2 separate regions of the Homo sapiens genome follow, and region 1 is linked to region 2. Evidence: promoter capture Hi-C in 16 types of primary human blood cells and fetal thymus (Javierre and others, 2016). All regions are on one chromosome and are shown on one strand. The core of a region is centred on a gene start or on the middle of the fragment in contact, and the rest is flanking DNA. Distances in the headings are between cores, read along the strand shown. Region 1 holds the start of ZNF404 (zinc finger protein 404). Region 2 holds the start of ZNF234 (zinc finger protein 234).

Region 1 (6,435 bases), core at 1,813-4,312, 260 kb after region 2:
ATTGTAAATTTGACTTAATGTTGCATAATAAGCTCTTTTTTTGAGACGGAGTCTCACTCTGTCACCCAGGCTGGAGTGCAGTGGCACGATCTCAGCTCACTGCAACCTCCACTTCCCCAGTTCAAGTAATTCTTCTGCCTCAGCCTTCCAAGTAGCTGGGATTACAGGCGTATGCCACCACACCTGGCTAATTTTTGTATTTCCAGTAGTGACGGGATCTCACCATGTTGTCCAAGATGGTTTCAAACTCCTGACCTCAAATGATCCACCCGCCTTGACATCCCAAAGTACTGGGATTACAGGCATGAGCCACCGCAATAAGCTCTTAATTAATTTTGTAATTCTAAAATATTCATGTGATTATCTTTTCAGATCTGATACTCTATTGATTTACTCCATTTTGCAATCCATTTTGCTCATCTTTTCTTTTCTTTAGCATGTTAATCATATTTTCAAGCCCTTGTCTGCTACCTCCCATATCTGGATTCTTTGTGAGTCTGTTTCTGTTGAGATTTTTTTTTCTCCTGCTCATTAGTAACTTTTTCCTGTTTTTTTGTGTTTAACAGTTATCATGTGTTGGCATAATCTATTATATATTATAGAGACTCTGGATTACGTTATCTTCCTTTAATGAGTCTACTTCAGGGTTTTTCACCCTTGACACTATTGACATATTTGGCTAGCTAATTCTTTGTTTTAGGGACTTTCCTGTGCATCACACATTGTTTAGCAGCAAACCTGGTCTCTTTCCACTAGATACCTTAACACCTCTGCCTACATTATGACAACCAAATGTGTCTCCAGACATTGCCAAACGTTCTCTTAAGAACAGATTCACTGCCTGTTCAGAACCAGTGATCTACACAATAGTTTTTAATATCTACCTTATTTTCCATTATGTGAATACACAGTCATTTATTTAATTAACTACCTGTCTATGTCTCTTTAGATTTTTCTCCAGCTTTTTTCATTACAACTAATATGTATCATCACATTCTTTTATACATCTTCGAGCACATTTTATAATTATTTCTTTTGGACAGAGTCTCAGAAATGGCCTTTCGTGGTTAAGTTCTTATGCAGAGATTTGCTTACCTGTATTAATGCCCTTGATTTTCACAAGTCTACAGGACACCATGAGAATGCACTTTGCCCTACAGCCTCACTAATATGTGGTACATCATCAACCTTTTAAATGTGACAACTAAATACCTGTAAAATGACAGTATCTTATTGTTTAGAAACATCTCTTTAGTAAAGTTACGTATCTTTTGGCAGGTGATGCCTTGATTACCTAGCTTTGGCTTCTCTGAACTCTGCTTCTCTGATAGAGGAAACCTGAAGAGAACTAGCATTTCTGAAACCATGGCCCGGGTGAGTTGATGTCTCTTTTGCTTTTCTGACTTATTGTGATTTTTTAATTCATGTAATATTTTCATTTTTTTAATCCTGAAACCTCCTATCTCAGAAAGCTCTCTCTTGGAACCTATTTCACATTCCTCCCATTCCAGTGATGGATGATGTCCTCCTCATTTGCCCTCCTTTTTTGAACTGATTTTCACTTATTTTCAAATAATTCATCCATCTTCTGTGTGTTCAGTCTTCTCTCAAGAGCAGTGTTAGAGCAGTGAAAGAGTGAAGTACCTTGAAATAGTTGAGCTGCCGTTGTCAGGTTCATGGTTTCGTGGCATAGGAACAATGGTCCTATTTGACTACAGGAGTGGAAACTTTCTCCACAGCTCCCTTATCTCCACAGTTAGATAAGGGAAAACTTGGTTATGAGTGGTCTCAGTCTGTTTGAGATGAGATCTCAACTTTGAAACGCATTTAGGTTTGAGTGAAGATGGGATTATCACTTACCTAGAGAGAGATTAGGGATCTAGCTAAGGGATCACTGAGAAATGAAAACAATTCCAGGGTCCCATTTTGTAGTGGAAGAGAAATTGACAGTCCTGAGGGAATCAAGGTTGTTCTGGATCATTCTGCATTACTGTGTTCCAACTCAGGAACAGATCTATAAAGAGTTGTAGAAAGGAAAATCAACTAGAATGATATGTGGTAGATGATATTGAACTATGGGGAAGAGGTTGGAATTTGTGTCCAACATACATGCCATATTAGTATAATTCTTTATACAATAATATTATTTTTAATAATAGTGCCTTAATACCTTAAGAAAGATGAATCTAATAAGAGGGTGCTTGTCACTTGATTCTTTTTTTTTTCTTTGAGATGGAGTCTCACTCTGTCACCCAGGATAGAGTACAGTGGCGTTATCTTGGCTCACTGCAACCTCTGCTGCCCAGGTTCAAGCGATTCTCCTGCCTCAGCCTCCCAAGTAGCCAGGATTACAGGCACCTGCCACCATGCCCAGCAAATTTTTGTATGTTTAGTAGAGATGGGGTTTCACCATGTTGGCCAGGCTGGTCTTGAATTCCTAACTTCAAGTGATCTGCCCACCTCAGCCTTTCAAAGTGCTGGGATTACAGTCATGAGCCACAATGCCCAGCCTCTTTTTAATTTTTTTTTTTTTTTTTTAGAGATGGGGTCTTGCTCTCTTGCCCAAGCTGGAGTGCAGTTTTGTTATCAAGGTTTACCGCAGCCTCAAACTCCTGGGCTCAAGTGATCCTCCCACCTCAGCCTCCCAAAGTGCTGAGATTACAGGCATAAGCCACCATACTTGGCCATTTTTTCATTCTTTTAACTGAATTTTGAAGAGCAGAAGTTTTTAATTTTTCAAAGTGATAATACCATTTTACATTCCCACCAACAGTGTATGAGAGTTCCATTTCTGGATGAAATCCAGTTTATCAGCTTTTTCTTTTCTTTACAGATTGTACTTTTTCTTTAGGGATTGTACTGTTGGTGTTGTATCTAAGAAATCTTTGCCTCACCCCAAGCTTATGTAGATTTTTATACTGTGTTTTCTCATAGAAGCTCTATAGTTTTATGTTTTATGTTTATCTCCATGTGCCATTTTAAGTTAATCTTGGCATATGGTACAAGGTATGGATAATTTATTTTGCATATAGATATCCAGTTGTTCCTACACCATTTTTTTAAAAGACGGTCCTTTATCCACTGAATTGCCTTTAGTCACTTGTTTAAAGCCAGTTGTCTAGATACGTGTAGGTCTATTTCTCAACTCTGTTCCATTGACTTATTTGTCTACGTTTATGCAAACACCACATACTCTTTATTATTGTAGTATTACGTTAAGCTTTCCAATTAGTAGGGTTGATCCTCCAACTGTGCTCTTCTTCAATGTTGTCTAGGTTATTCTAGATCCTTTGTGTTTTCATCTGAATTTTAGAATCACCTTGTCTATTTTTACAAAAGCTCTGCTGGGATTTTTTTTTTTTTTTTTTTTTTGAGACAGAGTTTCACTCTTGTTGCCCAGGCTGGAGTGCAATGATGTGATCTTGGCTCACTGCAACCTCCACCTCCCAGGTTCAAGCAATTCTCTTGCCTCAGCCTCCTGAGAAGCTGGGATTACAGGCATGCGCTACCACACCTGGCTAATTTTGTATGTTTTAGTAGAGACAGGGTTTCTCCATGTTGGTCAGGCTGGTCTCGAACTCCCAACCTCAGGTGATCCGCCTGCCTCACCCTCCGAAAGTGCTGGGATTACAGGGGTGAGCCATCGCACCTGGCCTCTGCTGGGATTTTGACTGAGATTTTGTTGAATCTGTGGATCTGTTTGCAAAGGTAAGAGTCATCTGACTGATGAACATATTATAGCTTTCTATTTGTTTAGATCTTTTAAGTTTTTTCTCAGTAATTATTTGTAGTTATGAGAGTATTAGTATTGTCATCTTTTGTTAGATTGATTCCTAAGTATTTTATATTTTTCATTTGATATTCAGTATTTTTAATTTTAATTTCCACCAATTGTTGCTAATTAAAATGCCATTTATGTTTAACATATTGAGCTTGTATCTTCTCAGCTTGCTAACTCACTTGATAGTTTTAATGAATTTTTATTAGATTCTATTAGATTTTCTATATAGACAATCATGTTATCTGTGAATAAAGAGATTTTTACTTCTTTTTCAATCTAGATGCTTTTTATTTCTTCTTCTTGCCTGAGTTGCACTGGCTAGAACCGCTAGTACAATGTTGAATAGAAGTGGTGAGAGTAGATATCCTTGCTATATTCCTGATTTGGGGAGGAAAGCATTCAGCCTTTCACTATCAAATGTGATGTTAGCTATGGGTTTTTTATAGATGTCATTCATTGGGTTAAGGATGTTCCCTTCTTTTCTTGTTTCACCAAGGATATCAGCAGTGGATGTTGGCTTTTGTCAGATGCCTTTTCTGCATCTATTGATATGTTCATACGGTTTTTCTTTTGTAGTTTGTGAATATGGTGCATTACCTTGATTGATTTTTAAATGTGAGACAGGCTTGGATTGAGCCTTGGTCATAATAGAGTTCCCTTTCTTATATACTGTTAGATTTGATGTGCTAAAACTTTGTTTGGAATCGTTGCATCTGTGTCCATGATGGATATTGGTTTGTACTTTTCTTGTTCTCAGTGGAATCCAGTGGGCTTTGCTTAGGTTCCCGCTCCCTGTGCCACAGCCTAGAAATTGTCTCCTTACAGTAAACTAGTGTGACTGTAGGTTTCACCTCATTTGTTACTTGTCTTTCAGGTATCATTGCGCAATGTTTTCTGTCTTGAAAACCATGGTTTAATATATTTTGTTCAGATTTTCAGTTGTTTCATACAAGAAGGTAAATTCAATCCCTGTTATTCCGTGTTGGCTGGAAAAGATTTTATAATACAATTGGGGGAGGGGGTAGTTATCAATTCATGGTTTTTCATATTCCTCGAAGAGAAAAGCTGTAACAACTTGTATTTATTAATATTATATGGCTTAGGTACGTAGAAGGTATTGTGCTTATATATACTATTTAATTTGGAAAGTTTGGTGACTTCATTTATTTTTATATATTTGGATTTTTCTCTAATATTACTAAGAAAATTTTGTGTGCTCCAACAGGATTCCTTAAGATTGTGTGGGCACTCTACTTAAGACATGCTAATTTATTTACTCTTATCTAACCATGTCATCATCTTGTAACTCTAGACTACTTCTTTTTACATATTGCCCCTTTATTGCAATTTAATGTTCCATCTTGAAAAGTCTTCTTTACTTTTACAAATAATACACAGGTTTGTCATTTCAGGTGCCATTGACATTCAGCGATGTTGCCATAGACTTCTCTCAGGAGGAGTGGGAATATTTAAACTCGGATCAGAGGGATTTGTACAGAGATGTGATGTTGGAGAATTATACTAACTTGGTCTCATTGGGTAAGAATATCTGCACAAAATGATGTACAATATGCTCTCTAGAATATCAGCCTTCTCTGTTGTATATTTTATGGTCTATGCCAAGAAACCAGCTACATTTCTGCTCCATATTCTCAAAGTTTGTTAGGTGGAAATGGGCATATTTGAAGTTTGTTAGGTGGAATGGGCACCCCCATTCAGCACCTGAATCTTCACTATTCTTCACTTGCCTTTATGCCTGCCTCTGCCCTGTCCTATAATTACTTCTTTTTCTAAATGACTAGAGGTTTGAATTCTGGTATTTTTCTGCAAAGACACTATCAGCAAAAACAAATTTTAAATTATATGTGTGTTCAGAATGTCTGTAAATACTTTAATTGCTAATCTTCCTACATAAAAAACCATGGTTTTCTCTTTACCACAAAAGAGCCTCCATAATTTTTATAGTAGTAGAATGAATTAAGATTATTCTCTTTTTTACTGTTATTTTTGTAGTTCTAGCAGTTGGCCTGTTGGCTTCCAGTGATCTGATAGATTCCATGCAGAAGGGGCAGTCTTTGTTCAGTTTTTGGAAGATAGGTGACCATTCTCTCCTCCCATCTGGGACTTTAATTACACCTATGTTAGACCTTTTGAGCATATCCCACAACTTTTTCATGTCCTTATCTGCTTTTCTCCTCTCTTTCCCCTCTATTTTTCATATGATGGAGTTTGAATGTTTCCTGTTGACCTGTATTCCAGCTCACTTATTCTGTTTTCTAAAGAGGGGTTTTTCATGTCAGATATTGTCTTTTTCAGTTCCAGAAATTCAATTTAATTCTCTTTTATAACTTCCAAATACTTGTTGAAATCTTCATTCTTTTATTTGCTTTCCTTTTATTACTAAATTTTCATCTGTTTTCTTGGAACATTTTAATCATAGTTAATTTTTTAATTCTTTTATGCCTCATTTTTTGTATCATCTGGGGGTCTGCTTCTTTATTGTTTCTTTCTTTTAATCTTGTTATTTGTCATTTGTTAATGCATCTTCAAGTTACTAGTAGTTGTGATTGTATGCTGGGCATTGCATATAAAATAACTGAAGAGGTTTCAGATGATGCTATCTTCCACCAGAGGGTATTTATGTTTTCCTCTGT
Region 2 (6,006 bases), core at 963-3,462:
ATCTTGGCTCACTGCAACCTTCTCCTCCTGGGTTCAAGCGATTCTCATGCCTCAGCCACCAGAGTAGCTGGGATTACAGGCGCGCACTACCACATGTGGCTAATTTTTGTATCTTTAGTAGAGACGGGTTTTCTTTTTTTTTTTTTTTTCTTTTTCTGAGACAGAGTCTTGCGCTGTTGCCCAGGCTGGGGTGCAATGGCGCAATCTCGGCTCACTGCAAGCTCCGCCTCCCGGGTTAACACCATTCTCTTGCCTCAGCCTCCCAAGTAGCTGGGACTACAGGTGCCCGCCAACACGCCCGGCTAATTTTTTGTATTTTTAGTAGAGACGGGGTTTCACCATGTTAGCCAGGATGGTCTTGATCTCCTGACCTCGTGATCCGCCCGCCTCGGCCTCCCAAAGTGCTGGGATTACAGGCGTGAGCCACCGCGCCCGGCCAGAGACGAGTTTTTGTCATGCTGGCCAGGCGGGTCTCAAACTCCTGGCCTCAAGTGATCCACAGGCCTTGGCCTCCCAAAGTGCTGGGATTACTCGGGCTGTGACCCTGAGTGCCTCAGTTCCATAACTCAGGACTCAGGCATGACCCACCATGCCCTGCCCTCTTATACTATTTTTGCAACTTTTCTATAGACTTAAAATTATATAATTACTGTGTTAAAGTTTTTTTAAAAAATCAGGAAATAGTCATAGGAGAAATAATAATGAGAAGAATAAGAATGAGCATGATAGAATATGGCAGGTCACTAGTTTATTATCTCTTTATCTGGAAATTTCCATGGATAAGCAGATAAATAGAAAAACATTGAGAAATGTATAATAAAAATTTTGTAAAACATTTATAAGTAATATAAACATGGAACCACTAAAACAAAATGCATTAGAAATTTAACCATTACTATCTTTACATCCTGATTTCATAGGTAATTACAATTTTTGTATCTTCGTATTTCTGTAATTTCTGAATGCTTCACAGTGATACGGTTCTATTAGAATGTGAAATATTTGTAATAAATGAAACAAAATAGTTGACAGTTTTTAAAAACTGAGAAAACTCCAAGGCAATTAGCCTTGCTCTTAAGGTCCTTTAATCAAGTTCTAACTTACTTTCCCCACCTGAGTACAGCTAGTTCCTCTGCCTCAATGAGAATATATCCAAGAGATGATCAACTCGGGCTCTGACCCTGAATGCCTAGGTTCCAACCCAAGTTTCACCTCTTACTACTTGGATGACCAGTACCTCTCCACAGAGTCACGTTGCGGCTTAAACGTATCTAATTGTATAAATCCCCTAGAATTGAAGTTAGCAATTAAGGCTTAATTATTATAAATGCCCATGCCCTATTACACATGCTACAAAGATACAGTCTCTGTAAAAGAAAAATGACAAGTCACACTCACGTGGAGCTTTGCTTTCAGTAGCCAAGAAGTCAGTCCGCGCAGTCCTTTTTCAGGCTGGGGAAGGAGAAAGCTGTGAAACATCCTGACTGGGTCGCTGTCCCTGAGAAAAGTTAAATGCTCCCCTCCCTTCGTGGAAGTGGACGCAACCCTCGCCTGCCTAAAAAGAGGTCAGAAGGCGTCCGGGATCGTCCAGCGTCCTGCAGGGATCAGAGATAAGGGCTGAGGCCCCTGCTGCTGGAGCTCTGACCCCACCGGGGGACCTAACAGGTTTCGTGGGAAAGTAACAAGAAACCACCACTCACCAAGTGACAGGGACTGTTTGTGTTGTGTAACCTATTCCAGTTACCAAAACGATTCTACAAAGATGGTCCTAACGTCCCCATTTTAAAGAACAGCAAGGAGAGGCCCAGGGAGATTAACACGCCAACCTTGCACTGTAAAAAAGTGACTGCGCGCCTGGAGTGCAGGGAGGCGGAGTGGGCGAGCTCAGAGCCCCGGAAACCCTCAAACCAGGCGAGACGCGACCCAACCAAGTCCCAATGCCCCCCGCCTCCCGCCGCGGGACACGAGGGGAGCCCCAGCCCAAGAAGGCTCCGCTGACACAACAAAAGCCGCCGCCCTCGCCCCACCAAACCTCTGCTCTCCCACGAGGCTTCTTTTCCCATAACCGGACCACCAGGTCCCAGCGAGCCCCAATCTTAAGTCCCTGACATTAGGAGGGGCCCGCGAGTCGCGGAACTGGAAGAAACTACCGTGGAATGTGCCGTGACAATCGCCCCCTCTTCCCTGGAGCGGAAGTGCCCGCGACTCCACTGATTGGCGGGACTACATTTCCCAGAATTCCCCGGATCCCCCTGCGTGGGTCAAATGGACCACGACTCCACTGAGCGTTTGGATTACACTCAGAATGCTGAGGGAAAAACGTTCAGAATCTCACCCTTCAGGGAAAAGCGATGGGACTCCGCGGTGCTCCTTGCCTACGATTCCCGCACTGCCCATGGGGAACGAATCCTATATCGCTGAGCGCTTGGTAGGGAATGTGGACTGTGACCCTGAGAGTCGTCCTTCCCTCTGCCTGAGTCCTTGAGCGAAAATATTGAATAGACAGCAATTCCTGAAGTCTAAACGCCTCCCAGGACTACGGAGGATTATTGGAAAGAGAACAAGCGAGGAGATACAATCTTCAAGGACTAAATGGGGAATGACTTTTTAGGGGTCAGTAGATGATTGATGATTGATTACTATAAACTGATAATATGAGGCCAAAACTAAAAGTTGGAAGAGTGAGCAAGTACAATGGTTTGGGAGAGGCAATGAAGAACAAAGAAGGTGCCAGCCCCTACTCCAGACGCTGTGGTACCACTGGTTTGGCAGGAAAAACAATCATCATTTGAGAGGGCCAGTGGGGAAGCCCTGTCCTCATGGAAAAGCTATCTTCTTTCGTTTACACTTTTCATGGTATTATGTCTACTGAAGAGGTAAAAACACCAAATTTCAGAGAAGCTCTTAAATTGCCCAATACTTCAAAGCAAGTATAACTGGTGAAGCGCTTGGCATTGATGTCAGACACCCAATGCCTATGATTTATTTAATGCAGTAGCATTAAGGAGGATCCTATACGTGAAGGAACATATTTTATTTTCTTCCTTTATATTTTTTGGTTAAAATATCGTCATTATAGTTAGCAATTTGGAATCTGGCTTACATTGGTTGATACAAATAAATAATAGAATAAAGCAAAATCAGAAAAAAACCCATCTAAAATCTTTCTTCAAGATAACCAGGGGCTGGGTGCGGTGGCTCACGCCTGTAATCCCAGCACTTTGGGAAGGCCAAGGCGGGCGGACCATGAGGTCAAGAGTTCGAGACCAGCCAGGAGAACATGGTGAAAACCCATATCTACTAAGAATACAAAAATTAGCCGGGCATGGTGGTGCGTGCCTGTAATTCCAGCTACTCGGGAGACTGAGGTAGGAGAATCGCTTGAACCTGAGAGGCAGAGGTTGCAGTGAGCCGAGATCATGCCACTGCACTCCAGCCTGGGCGACAGAGCAAGACTCTGTCACGGAAAAAAAAAAAAAAAAAAAGATAACCAGATTTTTTTCTCCCCATAAACATACATTGGCCTATTGATATGGTTTAGATCTGTGTCCCCACCCAAATCTCATGTTGAAATGTAATCCCCAGTGTTGGAGTTGGGGCCTGGTGGGAGGCGATTGGATCACCGGGGAGGTTTCTAATGGTTTAGCACCATCCCTCTAGTGCTGTTCTCCTGATAGAGTTCTCATGAGATCTGCTTGTTTAAAATTGTGTAGCATCTCACTCCTCGCTCTTTTCCTCCTACTCTGGCCATGTGAAGTGCTGGCTCCCTAGTCGCCTTGCAGCATGGTTGTAAGTTTCCTGAGGCCTCCCCAGAAGCTGAGCTGATGCTGCCATGTTTCCTTTACAGGCTGCAGGACTCTGTGTGAGCCAATGAAACCTCTTTATAAATTACCCAGACTCACGTATTTCTTTATAGCAATGGGGGAATGGACTAATACACTTATCAATCTATATTTTTGTTTTTTAAAAAATGAAGTCTCACATTCTAGATTCATTTTATAAACTAAAAAAATACCTTTTCACAATTGTGTTTACATAAAAACAAGGTTACTATGCTAACCACACAATGCCACACATCCCCCTCTTTGAAAATTGACTGACTGCTATTTCTATACTAGTTACAGCTGTATTGTTGCTCTAGTCGGCCCTTCCAAATGACAAAATTTATTGAGATGCTCCATCTCGGCCAGGCGCAGTGGCTCACGCTTGTAAACCCAGTACTTTGGGATGCCAAGGCCAGCGGATTACTTGAGGCCAGGAGTTTGAGACCAGCCTGGCCAACATAGTGAAACACTGTCTCCACTAAAAATACAAAAAATCAGCTGGGCGTGGCATGGTGATACATGCCTGTAATCCCAGCTACTCAGGAGGCTGAGGTACAAGAATCACTTGAACCTGGGAGGCCGAGATCACGCCACTGCACTCCAATCTGGGTGACAGAACGAGACACTGTCTCAGAAAAAAAAAAAAAAAGTGGAAGGGAGGGAGGAAGGAAGGGAAATGCACTCCAGCTGAGTGACAGAGCGAGACTCTGTCTCAGAAAAAAAAACAAAAAAAAAAAGGAAGAAAAGAAAGAAATGTAAATCAGTCAATATCTTCTAAAAAATTTAAAATTATTTTTTCCAGGGTTATATTTTTAACATTTTGATCTTCAGCGATTCCAACATTCAAGATTATGTCTTTCTGGATTATGATCAATTTCTGTCCTTAGTGCATGATCTCAGGATATACCAGATACTAGTTTTTATCCATTACTGGTGCTGCTAAACTTGAACAGTTGATTAAGGGGTTTCTCTCCAGAATTCTGCACTCTAAAATTATTTTTCCCCTAAAAAGTTACTACTATCTGGTGAAAAACTGAGATACTCCAACTCATTCTATGTTGATTTTTTGGCATTATGCTCTAAGAAAAAGCTTTCCATCTATATTATTTATTTGTTTATACCAGTGTGGATTTGTGAATTCTTGTTATATTAATGAGTTCACATCTACTACTGTTATTATGTATTTTGATTCTCTGGTTGTCTCAGATTTTGCCAGTAAAATCCTCTTCAAGCAGTCCCCTCTTGCCTTCTGGCTCCTCCTGTTCATCATGATATGAGCTCTTTGTGCACTGGTTTACTTTCTGATACTGTGTGTTCCAAGTTCATTAGGTATTTTTCAAGTTCATTGGGTATTTTCCCTACCCTAGCCATGAGATCAGATATTTCTCCTAGGACTTCTGGTTCCTATTTGTGGAAAATGTAGTTAGAAACAAAGAACTGAGTGCTAGGTATGATCGCTGCTACCTTAGTGTTTTTTATTCTTGACCCTCTCAGCTGACAAAACTAGCAAATATATACTTTTTTTTTTTTGAGACGGAGTTTCCCTCTTGTTGCCCAGGCTGGAGTGCAATGACGTGATCTCGGCTCACTGCAACCTCTGCCTCCCAGGTTCAAGAGATTCTCCTGCCTTAGCCTCCCAAGTAGCTGGGATTATAGGCATGCACCACCACGCCCGAATAATTTTATATTTTTAGTAGAGCCGGGGTTTCACCATGTTGGCCAGGCTGGTCTTGAACTCCTGACCTCAAGTGATCTGCCCACCTCGGCCCAGCCTTTTTGTTTTTTGTTTTTTTGGTAGAGACAGAGTCTCACCATGTTGCTCAGGCTGGTCTCAAACTTCTAGACTTAAGTGATCCTCTCGCCTCAGGCTTTTTTCACTTTTTATACTGCTATTGATGTCTAGTTATTATGATCTAGACTGTAGTTGGAAAATATATTTTTATGGTGTCAAACTTTTACATTTATCAAGACTTGTTTTGTGGCCTAATATATGGTCTGTCTTGAAGAATGTTTCATGTGCAGTTGAGAAAATGTGTATTCTGTTGGGGGGCGGAGAGTTATGTCAATGTCTCTCAGGTTGAATTGGTGTATAATGTTCTTCAAATTATCTGTTTCCTTATTTATCTTTTGTCTGGGTGTCCTATGCATTTGAAAGAAAGGTAGGGAGTCTCTTACTATTATT

Evidence for each region. Contacts are between HindIII fragments. The CHiCAGO score rates a contact against its expected background, and 5 or more counts as called.
Region 1: a contact is called between a fragment that was not itself captured here and the fragment with the promoter of ZNF234 in region 2, in 8 of 17 cell types (erythroblasts, total CD8 T cells, M2 macrophages and 5 more). The highest score is 7.4, in erythroblasts.

What each region holds. Positions count from the first base shown.
Region 1 is chr19:43,878,895-43,885,329 of GRCh38, reverse strand. It overlaps ZNF404 (zinc finger protein 404), which reads left to right and starts at 1,366. Exons shown (of 3, transcript NM_001033719.3): 1 at 1,366-1,374; 2 at 5,194-5,320. The coding sequence starts at 1,366. The HindIII fragment of the contact is 320 bases long and covers 2,903-3,222 here.
Region 2 is chr19:44,137,760-44,143,765 of GRCh38, reverse strand. ZNF234 (zinc finger protein 234) reads right to left here and starts at 2,212. Exons shown (of 6, transcript NM_006630.3): 1 at 2,033-2,212; 2 at 1,399-1,452. RefSeq lists enhancers at 1,725-1,774, 1,440-2,030, 1,785-2,184. The HindIII fragment of the contact is 9,485 bases long and covers 1-4,916 here.